2 separate regions of the Homo sapiens genome follow, and region 1 is linked to region 2. Evidence: promoter capture Hi-C in 16 types of primary human blood cells and fetal thymus (Javierre and others, 2016). All regions are on one chromosome and are shown on one strand. Each heading gives the region's core, a stretch centred on a gene start or on the middle of the fragment in contact. The rest is flanking DNA. Distances are from core to core; before and after follow the strand shown.

Evidence for each region. Contacts are between HindIII fragments. The CHiCAGO score rates a contact against its expected background, and 5 or more counts as called.
Region 1: a contact is called between a fragment that was not itself captured here and the fragment with the promoter of TLL1 in region 2, in 1 of 17 cell types (endothelial precursors). The highest score is 5.3, in endothelial precursors.

Annotation. Positions count from the first base shown.
Region 1 is chr4:165,986,439-165,993,802 of GRCh38, reverse strand. It overlaps TLL1 (tolloid like 1), which reads right to left. Exons shown (of 21, transcript NM_012464.5): 2 at 4,312-4,422; 3 at 919-999. Among named protein-coding and RNA genes, the nearest start is that of TLL1, 120 kb to the right of the region's middle. The HindIII fragment of the contact is 1,252 bases long and covers 1,461-2,712 here.
Region 2 is chr4:165,867,692-165,875,406 of GRCh38, reverse strand. It overlaps TLL1 (tolloid like 1), which reads right to left and starts at 2,170. Exons shown (of 21, transcript NM_012464.5): 1 at 1,334-2,170. The coding sequence starts at 1,502. The HindIII fragment of the contact is 7,346 bases long and covers 1-3,112 here.

The DNA of each region.
Region 1 (7,364 bases), core at 837-3,336, 120 kb before region 2:
ATGATTTAGAGGTCAGTACACAACACGAACAAAATGCATTCTATTCTGGAGCAGCTTTCAAGTCTATAGTCTTTTCCTTTTCTTAATGGCCTTTCATAATATTTTTGTTGCTGTTTTTGTTTCTCCTAAATTTACATGATTATTCTTTCTTATCTATCACTGTCAATATGAATATCCTGCCACTGGTGTATACTTTGACACAACAAATAGGGACTCTGTCTCTAACATGTCTGTCTTTTCAATAGCCTGGAGCAAAGCACTTTTGCTTGGGAAAATTATTCCTTGGAAATATGTACTTCAAGCATTTAATTAGTAATCCATCAATTTAAGGAACGTTAGAATATGAGCTATGCATACAGGATTTTAAACAAACCTCTAAAATCTACAAATAATTTTTAATACATTCAATACTGTAAATATTAACTAATTATGAGCCAGAGGCATAATTAGTTCTGAATGTTTATATATATTTATAACTATTTTCTATTTTTTGAATGGTCAAAACATTTTAACTTTTTAAATCCGGTAATAAGTTTTTCATTTTACTTTAAGTAGATTTATTTCAAAACAAATAACCATGATATTTTTTCACTTGATTAAAATTGATCCAGGCTTTATAAAAATACCTTGGTGTGATGCTGAATTGCCTGGAAATAAGTATCAATAATAAAATAAACACCTGATACATGTTTAAATAAAGAGAAGCTTAAAATAAATTAAAGGAACATTTCAAATTATTCCAAATGAGTTCTAAAAGGCTTTGATCAGATATGAGCTAGCAAAATAAAAAGTTTTAGAATATATCATTTACATACTTCACATCATAATGGCACACTGATTTTAATAAACTGAACTGCTATGAGTATAATATTTACTGTACATCAAGTCAAGCGTCTGCAACTTTAAACATTGATATACCAAAGCCAATTCTTCTTATCCTGTCTATAAGTTGGTAGAGGGCCCCTCGCTTCTTTGACATAGCATGGTCTCCAAGTCCACCTTAAAGAATAAAAGGAAACAAGTTAAACTCAAAATATGTTAAAGTTCTTGCAAATAAAAAACAGTCATAGGCAACAATGATTTCTCTTTGGTCATTTTTTATGTGGTCTTAAAGTGTTGAAATTATGAATATCCATGAATCTTTGAAGGGGGTAAAAACTCTACAGCAACCAATGTTGGTAACTAAAATAAGGGGATGGGGAGACTCAGAGAGCAATGTAAATAACTTTATTTGGACATCATGACAATTGAGTCATCTATTGATAATTTGAAACATTTTTCTTTACTGTGACCTTGACATCACATAGTGCTACATAGAATGACAGCAAGTTGTTCTGCCCTGTTGATTGCATGCCAGCTATTTCCCCAGTGCAAACTGAATATTTTCGGAGGCCAAATCAGCAAATGGAAATAAAAACATTAGAAGAGCAAATGTGTAATGCATGTTTTCTTCCAAAGCTTCCATGAATTTCAAAAACTTTTTAAAGCATATCACATTTTAACAATATATTCAACTGCATTTTGAAAATTTAGTTGAATTTATAGAAATCAAAAACGTAATTTGGAAAAAGCCACAGGAATCCAAACGAATGTTCAGCTGCAAAATATATTCTGTTACGCTGTGTAATTTGAAAAATTTATAAAAAACAGAGTGTAAAAAAAGTCTGTAGTGCAAAAGGAATAGGAAACGGTAGGAATAAGGCAATATGTGTTCTTGCAATTTTACCAACAAAACCTAGAAAAGGTAGATTCCTGTCATAAGTCAGAAAGCATAGCATTTGGCAATAATTCAAGTCTCCAGATTTTCATTCCAGGGCTTTTATAAAATGCTACTCTCGGTTTTGTCACCTATTTTCTCTATTCTCCTTGAATTTTTATTAGACAAATAGGAAAAAGTTATCATTCAGCAAACAACCAATACAGCCACTAATGACATCTTAACAAGTGCCTATGAATTTGTAGTAACATGGAGTATCTATGGTTCATAGAGTATCTTTGGGCTAAGACAAAGAAAGCTATAATTCCACGACGACAACTTGAACTATTCACAAATCACTTGAACTATTTCCTTCCAATATCTATTTTTTTATTTAAAATTGTGATGCACCTAATTACCTAGACTGAAGCTAAAAAAAAATGATAAAATCTATTGCTATATAAGCCTCTTAAGGGAAAAATCAAATAAGTCCTTATAAGGCAAATAAGTTAGAGTGCTTGTTCACTGACTAATAATCTACTTAATTACTTCCATTACATGGCCACATTTTTGCTGTGCATCTTGAGAAACATTTTTGAAATTTTTTCATTGCACATTTTAGAAAGATGAGGTAATACTTAAATACATTCATTCCTAAGCAATTAGGAGAAACATTTTAAAAGTATGGCATCAATGATGTTTGAAATGACCATTATGTAACAACTATATTTATATTACATTGTTTGCAATTCAACTGAGTAGTGCAAGTTACTATTGAACTTTCAAACATGTACCTTCCACAGAAAAATTTAGAATAAGTGTTTTTATTATTATCAGTATGATCTGTTTTATTCTATGTCTAAAATAACACTATTTTTCTTCCAATTATTATGGTCTCAGAGTTTAACAATAAATAAAATTAAATTAAATAACAACATTTTAAAAATTTAAAATCACAGAAAATCAATGCCTTCAAAATAATGGGAGAAGGGAGGTCAAAGAAGTGATCTAAAGCTTAGAGCTAATGAAAATTTTAATAAAAGTTGGAAATGCAACTTATAATAACTCTAGCATTTTATTGTTGTATCATTGCTCTACTGTCCAGAATGCGTTGTCTCCATGACAGTGTTACAGGTGATATAGCAACTGGAGATTTGGCCAAGAAACATAATCTAGAGGGATACGCTATCTGTGGTGACACTGCACAGCAATATTAGCACCCATACTGATATATGTTTTAGAAAAGATTGTCACTATGCATAACAAACACCAAAGCACCCTATTTTTACATGGTGTTATTATTTTAGATGAATTCCTTAGGCTTTCTCTTACATACTCCCTACTTTAAATAAATTTTTATATCTGATAGTGGTATTTTGATTATATAGAATAATATCCTTATTCTTACAAAGTACATGCTAGACTACCTAATAATATTAAAGTGCGTTTTCTGCAGTTGACTTCAAATTTGTTTTAAACACACGTATGCATGTATGCACACACACACAACACACACACACATTCAGTGAAAATCATAAACTGTTAAAAACTGCTGAATCTAACAAGTAAGAATACCACTATTCTACAATCTAATAGGTAGAAATATTTCGATATATTTAAAACTGGTCATAGTAAAAAGTGGCAAAAAAAGTAAATTGGGCAAAGTAAAAAGTCACAGTAAAAAGTCTTAAGTCCATAATATATATGTGCATTTGATATCAGAAAGGACCACATATTGTACTTCCACAGAATAGGAGAAAATAAAAATACTAAAAAGGGAGAATGCAATGAAATCAAAAGCATGACATGAAATAAATATTTTAGCTATTAATATAATTAGAGAAAGAGATTTTAACTTTCTAACCTTGCAATTTTCTCCAGAATAATACACAGATAAAAATTTTACCAAGATACTACAAAGAATTTTGAAATTTTAATTTAAAAAATTGTTAAATGAGAACTGAAATAATCTTTTACATATATCAAGTTTCTTACAGGCATAATTCAAACATGTTTAAATCAACTAAAATTAAAATTGCCTTCTGGGGTTTTTACAAAAATTATATAGATATATAAATTTTCCAAATATTATTCCTATATAATTTCAAATACATTTCCTATATAATTTCTCTAAGAATAATTTACATTTTGCAACTCAATATCCAAATGAGAGGCAACTTAATATAATACTCAAGAGGACAAAATCAAGCTTTTTTCAGAATTGAATTCTGGTTCTGACATGGCCACTTCCTGATGATGTGACGATAAGAAAGCTGTATAGCCTTCTAAATCTCAATCTGCTGATTTCTAAAATCATAGTAATATTAGTAACTACCCTGAGGGGGTTGTCATGAAGATTCAGAGAATTAATACCTGCAAAGCACTTAAACCAGACCTAGTATGTAGCAAATACTACAACCTGTTTGGTAAAAAAAAAAAAAAATTAATAAAATGAAAACTATGAATAAAACCTGCATTTCTAAATATGTATATTTGTGTATAGGAAGTCAGAGTTGATCAACAGGAGATGAAAAATGATCCAAAAATATTTATAGCACTTCAAGAGTATATTTTCTCCAAAATAAAGACAAATTTTCTGAAACAATCAACCATACCTGTGGTATGTCCAAGGTTTCCAAAGGGGTTCTGCGTAAGGTCAATTGTCCTATCTATTTGAAAGATATTTAAGTCTTCATCATCTAAGGCAATATCGCCCCAAAATACAGCTAAAAAAAGAAAAGTTGAATTAAAATGTAAAATATTTCCGTGAAATCAATACACACAAAGCTAATTAGAAAAGCATTGTTAAAAATATGGAAACGTGGTCTGGATAGAGACAGATCTTTCAGAAAGTAATCATAACTGAATGCACTGGACCTGTTACAGGACAAATATTAGCTACCTGTAAAAGGGCATAACTCCATTTTTTTACATTGTTGCTTGTGGAGAGGGGGAAAGTAGTTTCCTTGAATAAGAAGGTTACTGATTATGGAGATTCTAAATAAAGAGAAATAGGCAATCATGAGCTAATTCGCAAATATCTGAAAATCGGATAAGAATGTCTGCATCTTCTGTGGATTCTTATGACCAGCAGCAGGTCTTCACTGAGAGGAAAAAGGAAAAGCAGTAACAACTAAACCATGTGATATTTTATAAACTAAGATAATTTTATAATGCAAGGTGCAATCAAGACAAAAGAATACCTAGTGCTATTGTAGCAATTCATTCACCACATTTCATACAATTTATAATACACTTTATCTTAAGATGGCATTGCCTCTGAGTCTCTGTAAAATGGATATATAACTACCAAAAGTAATACTTAAGTCAATATTTATTTAGGCAACAACTAGATGCCAGATTTTTTATCTTTAATGACAAATATAACACGGTCCATATTTTCAAGAGCCACCAAGTCATTACCCTAAAACCTGAAAACACTCTGACTCTATTATTATTATTTTTATTATTTTTGAGTTAGGGTCTCTCTGTTACCCAGGCTGGAGTGCAGTGGTGCGATCACGGCTCACTGTAGACTTAACCTGAACCTCCCAGACTCTAGTAGTCCTCCTACCTCAGCTTCCCAAGTAGCTGCGACTACAGACACACTCCACTGCGCTGGGCTAATTTTTGTAATGCCTGTTAATTTTTGTATTTTTTGTACAGAAAGGGTTGTGCCATGTTGCCCAGGCTGATAATGAACTCCTGGCCTCCAGCAATACTCCTGCCTCAGCCTCCCAAAATGCTGGGATTGCAGGAGTGAGCAACTGCTCTCAGTCTGACTCTATCTTTTTTACCTAGTGTATTATGCTACTTAATAAAGCAAAGCTCTATAAACCATTGTGAAACCATGGGAGAGTTCATTGATAACTAGTATGTGAATTTCTCTTTTAAAGTTCGTCATATATATTAGTGTAACAATAAAATAGTCTCCCTGCTTATTTGAATACAAGCTACACCAACCAATCCCTTAGTACTGCCAGAGTCAAAGCACAGTAACTTTAGGAAGCACAAAAAACTCGAGAAATAAGAAATTAATCATGAGACAGTAGAACACTGAAAAATACCTAGAAATACAGGGATATTTGTTTTTTACAGGTTTACCAATTTTCTTTATTTTTAAACCTTTCTTCAGATTTTCTTCTGTGAAACCAAAAGGAAAAGAAAGAAAATACATTAAAATCGTAGAAAGTGACAAAATCCATGCTTTTCAAATTACTGTCTTTCATTGGATTTAAATCTTAATATTTATGAACTTTTCCACTATAGAGAATTAGTTATTTATGAAGTTTAAACTTCAGTCCTAAAAGCTGTGCAATGTTTTAGGCTTTGATCAAAGGTTTATCATATAAAATTATTTACCCAGTGCAAAACTGACATGAGATAAGAAGGAAGGGGTTAGATTTATGTGGGAATCTAGAAAGGAAGAAAATAGAAATTAGTAAAATGTAGGTTATCACTTCAACATATAGAAAAATCTTTACTATAATTAGATTTCTCTCTTAAACCCCTCACTGGCCCTATTTCCAATGGAAAGGCAGTCTAAAGAAGCAAAGAAATGCTTACTTTCGTTTACTCTCATAGCAGCAAAGCCACAAAGAGTGTACAGAATAGTTTATAACACTAGCTAAGAGGGTGGTTTTGATGCCTGAAATTGAATCGAGATTCTAATCAGCTTCGTACAGACGCAGCAGAAAACACTAATGCTCCAGCATCCCTAAAGCCAGACCCCCGCAAGAAACTTACCCAAGTTAAATATTTTGCCAATTATAATATAAGGCTTGTTGGTTTTCATAAAAATACATTTTACACTTTTTAAGACTGTAAGGTAAATCCAAGTTGACTAGTTATATGAAACTTCCATCAGGTGCATTTACAATGCAAATAGCTCTGATCATCCACTGGCAGGGACTCTCAGCCTGTCTCTTCCTTTCTTAGTGCTGGTAGTGTGGTGGCCACTAGACACTGAAGCAGTGCTTCACTAACTTTAATTTGCATAAGAATCATAGAGAATCTGGCCAAAGTGCAGACTCTGATTTGGTAAGTCTGGAGAGGAGCCTCAGATTCTACATTTTTAACAAGCTCCCAATCACTACAAATGATTATCATTGTCATCATCTTTATTAGTATTAATTTTTTCTGCAAGAATAAATTCCCACTCTTCTTTGAGTCAGATGGTTGACTTGAAAACGGAGGCACTCAACTAAGCAAAATGTACTTTGTCAATACTGCATTTCAGATAAAAGCAGTACACATAAAATAAAATTCAAATATGTTTCAGATTTTATTTTCTTGTAATGGCTTTTTATATGCAGTAGGATCCATGTCTTGATGGATTATATCAAACACAGATCAACAGTCCAAGGATAAGTCACTTCACAGAAGCAAAAACATTACTTCTGGGGAGAAGAAAGGGCACCAGGCTAGATGATACTTAAAGGAGAAAAAACAGTTCTGGAGGACATAAGCCCATTTATTTATTGCCATATTTTCTAAACTAATAACTTCAGAATAGTTTGGTAGTGATGAATACACCATAAATTGCTTTAGGAGAAAACCAAATATTTCTTTGAGAGAAAGCAATAGTGAGTGACTAAGCCAATTCATTTACGGCCAGACTTGACACACTGTAGCCCATATACATCTTTAAATCTTGATATTCTCAACA
Region 2 (7,715 bases), core at 921-3,420:
GATGTGATAATGTGAACACAACACACATACCCTTTTTGTCAGAACAATGGGTCATCAAAGGTAAAAATTAACTAGGGAATTTCCAGCATTTTTCTTCATTGTGTACACCTCTCCTTCCTCCAGGCCCAAGAGAGGGTGAATAATGCTTATCTAGTTATGGAAGGGAAGAAAAGCTAGTCACAGAGCAACCCCGCACGGAATCTGCAGAACCCTAGATATATTTGACTTTGTCCACTCCCTTCCTCTGCGCTTCGCTAAAGCCCACACCTCTTGGGATGGAACCTAACGTGCCTTCCGCTTACAAACCGCTCTGCTAGGTTAGCCCCAACCACCATGCAACCTTTACGAAGTTACTTGTGCGTCCACACTGAGCGCGGATCACCTCAGCCACAGCCCAATAGAGCAAGGAACCAGGAGCTCCCGAAGCCCGGACACGAGCCGCGGCCAGTGCTGGGCGCCCTCAGGCGCTGCGCTCACGTGGTAGCGGCCCCGGGCACGTGCGCCTCCGACCTTAGGCGGCGAGAGGGAAGCGCCGCCCCGCGCGCGCGAGAGGCTGGCAGCGGCGCCAGAGGCGTAGAAGGGAGGGGAAGGACCTGGGACATTCAGGGACCCTGCGAGGCAAGAAGCTGAGCTTCAGGCAGTGCCGGTCCGACTGCATTTCCCTGGGGTGTTAGCTGGAAGGAAGACACAAATTTGAATGGGGTAGCAACTTAAAAACATTTTTCTTTTCAGTTTATTTTAAATGGGCAAATGCATCAGAATCCCATCTAGAAGTGAGTTCTTCCGAGATTGTCACAATCCCTTTCTAGCCTGGAACCCACACTTGAAATTCCTGGTAAAAGAGGGAGCCAAGGTGTCTCCAGGTAGCAATGCCATCCTCCTGTATCTTTTGGGGAACCCTGCCAACTCGCTCTCGAACAAGCGCTGGGAAACCGCGCCCTGGGGGAGAGGGGAAAGAAGACGGTGTCCCTTCCATATGCATAAAGCCCGCTGAGTGTTGGAATTTAAAACCTACAGCAGCAAGCTATATTTACGACTTGTTTCGTTTTGCTGGGGGAGGGGAGAGGGATCAGAAACTCTAGGACCTTATTCCCAAACTGGGAGATGGGAGCTTGGCAGTGGATCCCACTGGCACAGAACTCTAGTCAACTGGGGCCGCAGCGGCTGCCACTTGCGGGTGGGGAAGGGAAGGAAAAGGAGGGGGAGAGAAGGAGGGGCGGCGGAGGGGCTGACGCGGGAGGGAAGGAAACAGGTGAGCTCCCACCGCCACCCATGGGAAACCCAGCGCAGCGGCCCCCGGCGCGCCACCGTCCCAACCTGGAGAGCCACTTACCGGCTTTACACGGGTCCTTGTAATCTATAGTCTCTGTTTTATCCTCTTCGTTCCCATCAAAAGTGTAATCATAATCGAGGCCAGCGCAGACCCATAGCTCCCCGTAGAAAACAATCCCCGAGGCCACCAGCCACACGAGCATCCTCGGGGAAAGCGTTCCCAACCCCATCCTCCTCCCCCGGAGGAAAAGGAGGGGACGGGACCCAGAGGTTAGGCAGCCGCGGTCCGCGCTGATGTGCGGGGCTAGGGGCACCGGTGCTCTTCTCCCCACCCGGAGGCTCCTCGGCGGGACCGGGGTGCTCAGGTGTCCGGAAACATGTGGATGCCGCCGGGACAGTAGAGAGGGCAAGCACTGCCTGTTACCCCCAGTCGCAGGGAGAAGTTGGCTAGGGGCCCACGGGTGGGCGGAGGGCAGGTAAGGAACTCTGCACTCGGAGGCGGGGAGGGCGCAGGCAAACTCGGCTCTGGCGGCGCTGGCGCTCGCAGCCTGCCAGGTCGTCCTTCTGGCTGCCGAACTTCCCGCGGCCGCGGCTCGGCGAGCGGCGCCCCGCGGGCTCAGCTGCCACCAGAGCTCGGACTCCCGCGCCGCGTCCCCGCTGCTGCCAGGACTCCGCGGCCGAGCGCGAGCCGCCGCCGCCTGAGCCCAAAGCCGCCGCCGCAGCTCCGAGAAGATGAATCCGGTCTGCACATCAGCACATCTGAATTGAAAGGGGAGACCGAGGAAGGGGGTGGGGGCCAGGCATTTCTACGCCGCGAGACCTTAAAAGCCTGCAGAAGCCAGCAAAGCAACTGACTGCAAGAGAGCAAAAGTGTGAGGATTTGGGGATGCACTGTTTGCCTTCCCCCCGCCAGCCTGTCTTTTTACCCTCTTCCTAACTTGAAAAAAAAAAATATTCGCACCATCTAACCCAATCACTTGCATCCTGCTTACTTATTCATACAATCAGGGTCAGGATCCGGACCACAGCCTCCTCTCTTGACTTCTTTTGATAGCCTTAGACAAACAAACAGACAGGAGCGCGCTGACAATTCCATTTATATTTTACCAAAGATAAAAATGAATATATTATGTATCTGTGTACGCAAACAGCAATTAATAGATGATGTACGTGTCAGTTGAGAGTGCCAGACCGGGGGTGGAGCGAAGGATCGTGATAACTTAGCTGCAAATCCATATTTCCCCTCCCCCCAAATAAACAGCGAGTGTGTATTTCTTTCCTTTGCTGCTGTTTAACCTTAGAGCAGCGCAGGAATGGAGGAAAAGTGTGCGAGTCTTCACGATTTTGGTAAGAAAATAAACAGACTACTGTTGGTCTCCTAACCAACAAAGTTTTGCTAAGAACTAAGATCCTCAGAACTGCAATTAAAAAAAAAATCCAAAATCGAGTTACAGATTGCAGCAGCAGGAAACGCTGAGACCTTGCCGATGGGCTGGCGCTATGGCTCACGTGGGCGCAGGAAGGGAAGCTGGATGGAATACTCGGGAAGCAAATTTTCTGTGACAGTTCTGGCGCCCATGAGCAGAGTTGCTCAGTATCCTTCGGCTTCAGTAATGTTTTACTTCTTCAGAGGAGAGGGTGTAAAACCTGGCAGGAGGGTCAGCGAGGTAAACCACATGTCAGCCGAGCAGACTCAAGACAAACACAGGTTGTGGGAAATTGGGGAGGAAAAAAATCAGAGGAAATCTCTGTAAAACCCCTGTTGTGAGCAATTCCGAGGTTTCCCCACATCTGCAAGTAGTTTCCAAAATAGGTGAGATGACTTCTCCCCCAACAAGCTTCCAAGGGACTGGTGATTGGGAGCTTTCCTTTTCCAACTAAATCTTTAAAACTGTCACTTTAGCAAGGACTTGTAAAAAAAAAAAAAGCCTTACATATTATTTGACTAGTGTTCCCCCTATCCAAGTTATCATCTAGAGGAATGTATGAAGGTAAACACACACACACACACACACACACACACACACACACACACACAACTTTGACAGATAAAGTCATCTTTGGTTTGGAGATTTTACTAGGTTTTATTCATGTTTGTTAGAGAAAAGTAAGAAGCCAATCTTGAAAAAGTACCAAGTATTTTCAACTTAAACTAAAAGTATAGGAAGGCTAGGTGGAACTGAACTGACCAAGTGTTCTTTGCAAAACTGGGTCTTTCTCAGAGGCCACTGCAATGATGGAGCTTCCCTTCCATAGATCTTAAGCTTTTAATGCCCAGGATACAGAGCAGAAGTAGATTTTTAAAAAGAACATGTTCAATAAGCAGGTAGAGGCGTTTGATTTTGAAATCTCTTGCTGAGTCATTCTCAAATTCTCTTACCCATCCAAAAAAAAAAAAGTTTGCATAATTAATAATAGTGTTGCCCTAGTGCAGAGCTCAACAAGAATATGTCCTGCTTAGCCCATCTGAAAGCCTAGAGAATGCATATGTCATCTAGAGGATTCCTGCTCTTGAGCTGCTGACAGTGTTCCCATTCCCTATCCCAAACCTTAAAAATGTCCCTTGTTAATCTAAATGCCTGCAAACATCTCCTTAGACTATTTTATCATGTGTAAATTTGCAAGAAGTTTTACCTGTGGTTTGCCTAAACATCACTTACTTTGCAGGAATAAATATGTTTTATTCATTTGTTCTGGGAAAAAAAGTACTGTATAGGGATAATAGCTTCATTATGTATAATGACACCTATTACTTTTAACATGTGTTTCATTATTTGGTTTTATAATTTTATGAATTTGTAGTCCAGAGAGTTAGAATGATTTTCATAGTAGAACTTCAAGTCAAAATACAGGAATGTTTCTTTACAGCTAATATACTTGCAGAGAATACCTACATCACAATACCCAGGCTTAATCCCTGATTTATTTTTAAATATTAAATCTAACTCTAGGTTGTAATAAGAAACTTCATTTTTTTAAACTAATTTTGTCTCTATAGTTGTTATGATTACAAACTAAAAATAGATTTTTCCTTGTCCATGAAAGAAACATAAATTTGCAAGAATATGTATGTGAGCAAGGAGTTGATTGCTGTGTCATAGTATAGCTGCAGACACGCAGTACGTGAATTCAATCTCCTCAGAAAGACAAAAAGGAGAAATTGATTCCCTTAGTAAGACATGTGCTGATGTTGCCCTGGCTTCTAGCTGACAAGCTCTCTTGATCACCATTGCCACCTACAACAGGACCCCATCACTCTCAGCAATAATAGGGAATGAAGCCAACCAAGAGTGCTGCAAAAGGCAAGCTCTATGCCAATTAGTATATCACGTTGGAAATACCAATTAAAATAAATTTCCCTTGTAGAAAATATCAATTAGACATGTACTCTTTCTAATCTAGATTTGTGCAAAGCTAGATGTGATCTTTTTGTGTTATAAGACCAAGTAATACATGAATGAATATATTTCCCTTTTGTCCCTTGTGAAAAAAAATACCCAGGGGATAAAAGGAGCTTTCCTTCTGCAATGGATTCCGGATTATAATCTGAATAGGGGCCCCTAAACAGAATCTCTGGTTATTCTTTAATAGTTTACTGTACTAGTCTTTCTCTCTACCATGCCCTCACTGGCCCTCACTGTGGGGAACAGAGATGTCCTTTGTTTTTATGGCTTTTAGCTACTCCAGACCATTTAACTCTTATTTTCACCCCATTCTGATGTGACCCTCTACTGGATAGATACAGCTTTATTTCATGAGCTTTCTTTCAGTTCTACATGGCATCTCCTAATAGTAGAGTTCAGTGTCCCAAAGTGTGGTACTTAAATTGCTGAGAGTACATGAAGTGATTTTAGGTAATGTAGTAATAAACTACATATAGATGTGTATATGTATCAGAAAAAAATAGTTATTAAATTTGCCATTGCATATATAGTTCTTACAATCATGCTTAAGCTAAAAACCAAGGCACTTGCTTTGTGAAATTAAGCCAGTGATGAAGGTAGCAGGTGAAGGTTGACTAATGTTTGATAAACACTGATCTAGTTCAGCTCCCGTCCTCTGCTACACCACACTGCCTGTGGGTTCCTGCCATTTGCCTCCTCCATCACACCTGTCCCACAGTTGCTTCCTTCTCGTACCTGCTTATCAGTCATTTTCACTTCCAGTCCTTCAATACAAAAGGTCTGAGTCTGGACGGGGAAGCTGCATGTATTCATTGTTGGCACTTTGGATTTGTTTGCTGTTTTAGGCATCACTTGCTGTATCACTCTTCAGAATATCCACTGACTTGTGTATTAAAAAAACATATATAATTGCTTAATGACATCCAGAAATGATTGCATTCTTCCTTTGGGCAACAGCTTGGCCAAAGTGAAATGGGGGCAGTGGAATGGAATAAGAAGGAGGTCTTCTTATTTCCAACCTAATGGGACTCAAAGGCTTGAGTCCACTAGTAGGTTTCCAATTATGTAACCTCTGCTCCTTTACTGAATCCTCACTGTTGTACCCTGAACACCTAGTTAAGGAGGCACAAGAGTATAGAGCTTGGAAACAGTCCCTCAGTGCAATTTCCAGCTCTCTACTTCCTAGCTTGGTAACTTTGTACCTGCTTTTGTAACCTCAAGTGTCCTCAGTTTTCTCATTCATAAAACGCAGATAATTTTAGGGATAGTGATATTTCATAGAGTTGTTACAAAGAATAAGTTAATTAATATATGTGATATTTTTTATAGTTCCTCATATATAGAAACTATGTGTATACTAGTTCCTAGTACATAAGAACTTTTGGTAACTGTTATTATTATCATTTTAAGTGAGTTCTAAAAAGTCAAATTATTTCCAGTCCCTCTAACTACATTATTTGAAAAGAAGCTTCTCTTTCTTCACTTGACCTAAAGCAGAATAACTTACTCAAAGTGATGCTGGAGAGAAGCAATGAACAAATCGGTTAAGAGCACAGAATTCAGCCACAGAAAACACAGACTTAATACTCACTTTCCCATTTAGTAGCTATCTTGCCTTGAGCAAGTTACTTCCCTAGCTACACTCTCCTGGTTTTTGAAACAGAAATGAAATACCTAATAGGGTTAAACTGAGAACTAGATAAAATTATGCATGCAATGTACTCCCTAGCAGATGTAAGCTAGCAACATTAAAAAAGTTGGTTATTATTATTAATTGGTATTTTTCTAGTGATCGGCAAAATCTATACATAGTTTTTCCACTGGCAGGCAAGAAATTCAGCATGCACACACACACACACACACACACACACACACACACAAATCTGGCTACAGATTAAATAAAACTAGGATAATTTTCTTTGAAAAATTCCATTAATAATACAAAACCCCTCAAACTAAAAAATAAACATTACTGGTGTTCTTTATAAATTCCCCAATAATATAGTGACTGACATTAGAACGCCTCTCATCTGGCCATTTTCTGTCCCCTTTATTTAGCTAATATAGTACTGTTTTCATATTTTTACATTATGAGCATAAAGTATGTCTCCCAAGACTTCCTAAGCAATTTCCCTATAAAATTTAATTTGTATTTTATTTTACTTACTTCATAGGTGATTAAAAAATAGACTCTGAAACCTTTGATGGATCGTATTATATACTTCCAACACAATGAGAATAATTTAGTTTTAAAACTATAATGATGGAGTATTATCAGCTTCTTGGAAGAAAGGAATACACTCAACTCCTTAAGGCACATTATCCAGGTCAATCACTTGCCAAAGTTTTTAGAGTCTTAAGCTATTTTAAAGATGGGGAAAGGGAGTTGAAATGAGTGAGTGATTCATGGACATATTATGGTTGCCTTATAACCCCTGATCCTCCACTGTCTCCTTTGGCTGGCCACTTTTTGGGAGCCTGCATTTCTACTAATCCTGCTAAACAGGTGCTGGGCAGTGGAGAGCTATATGCCTAACAATGGCCAATGACCTCCATCCCCAGCTAAAGCCCATTCTTCCTTCCATCCTGGCTGCATTGTATCCTTCCTGACTCCCCAGATGATAGTCTACAAAGAAGTCCCTCTACTCTGCCTTGCATTCAAGTTGTCCATCTCATAGAGGATAGGAGCCACATCTTTTCCATAAATGAATCCCACAAAATACTTTGTACATACAAGATGCAAAATAATTTTTTATGGACAAAAATAAAATTAACTCGATTTTATAATCGAAGTAGTATTCTAAAAGATTCCATCACTGGAAACACTGAACACTAAAATATCAGTGAAAATTAATTTTAAAAATCTATACATTCAGTATAAAAGCAGGGTTTGGGATGGGAAAACGTGTTTAAGTCCTTGTCGCTCTCCTTGTTAGATGTCTTTGGACACTTATCCTTTCTTAGCTCAATTTTTCTCACCTTTAAAATAAAATAAAATAAAATGCTTACCTCATATGGTTATTTTGCAATGCAAACACA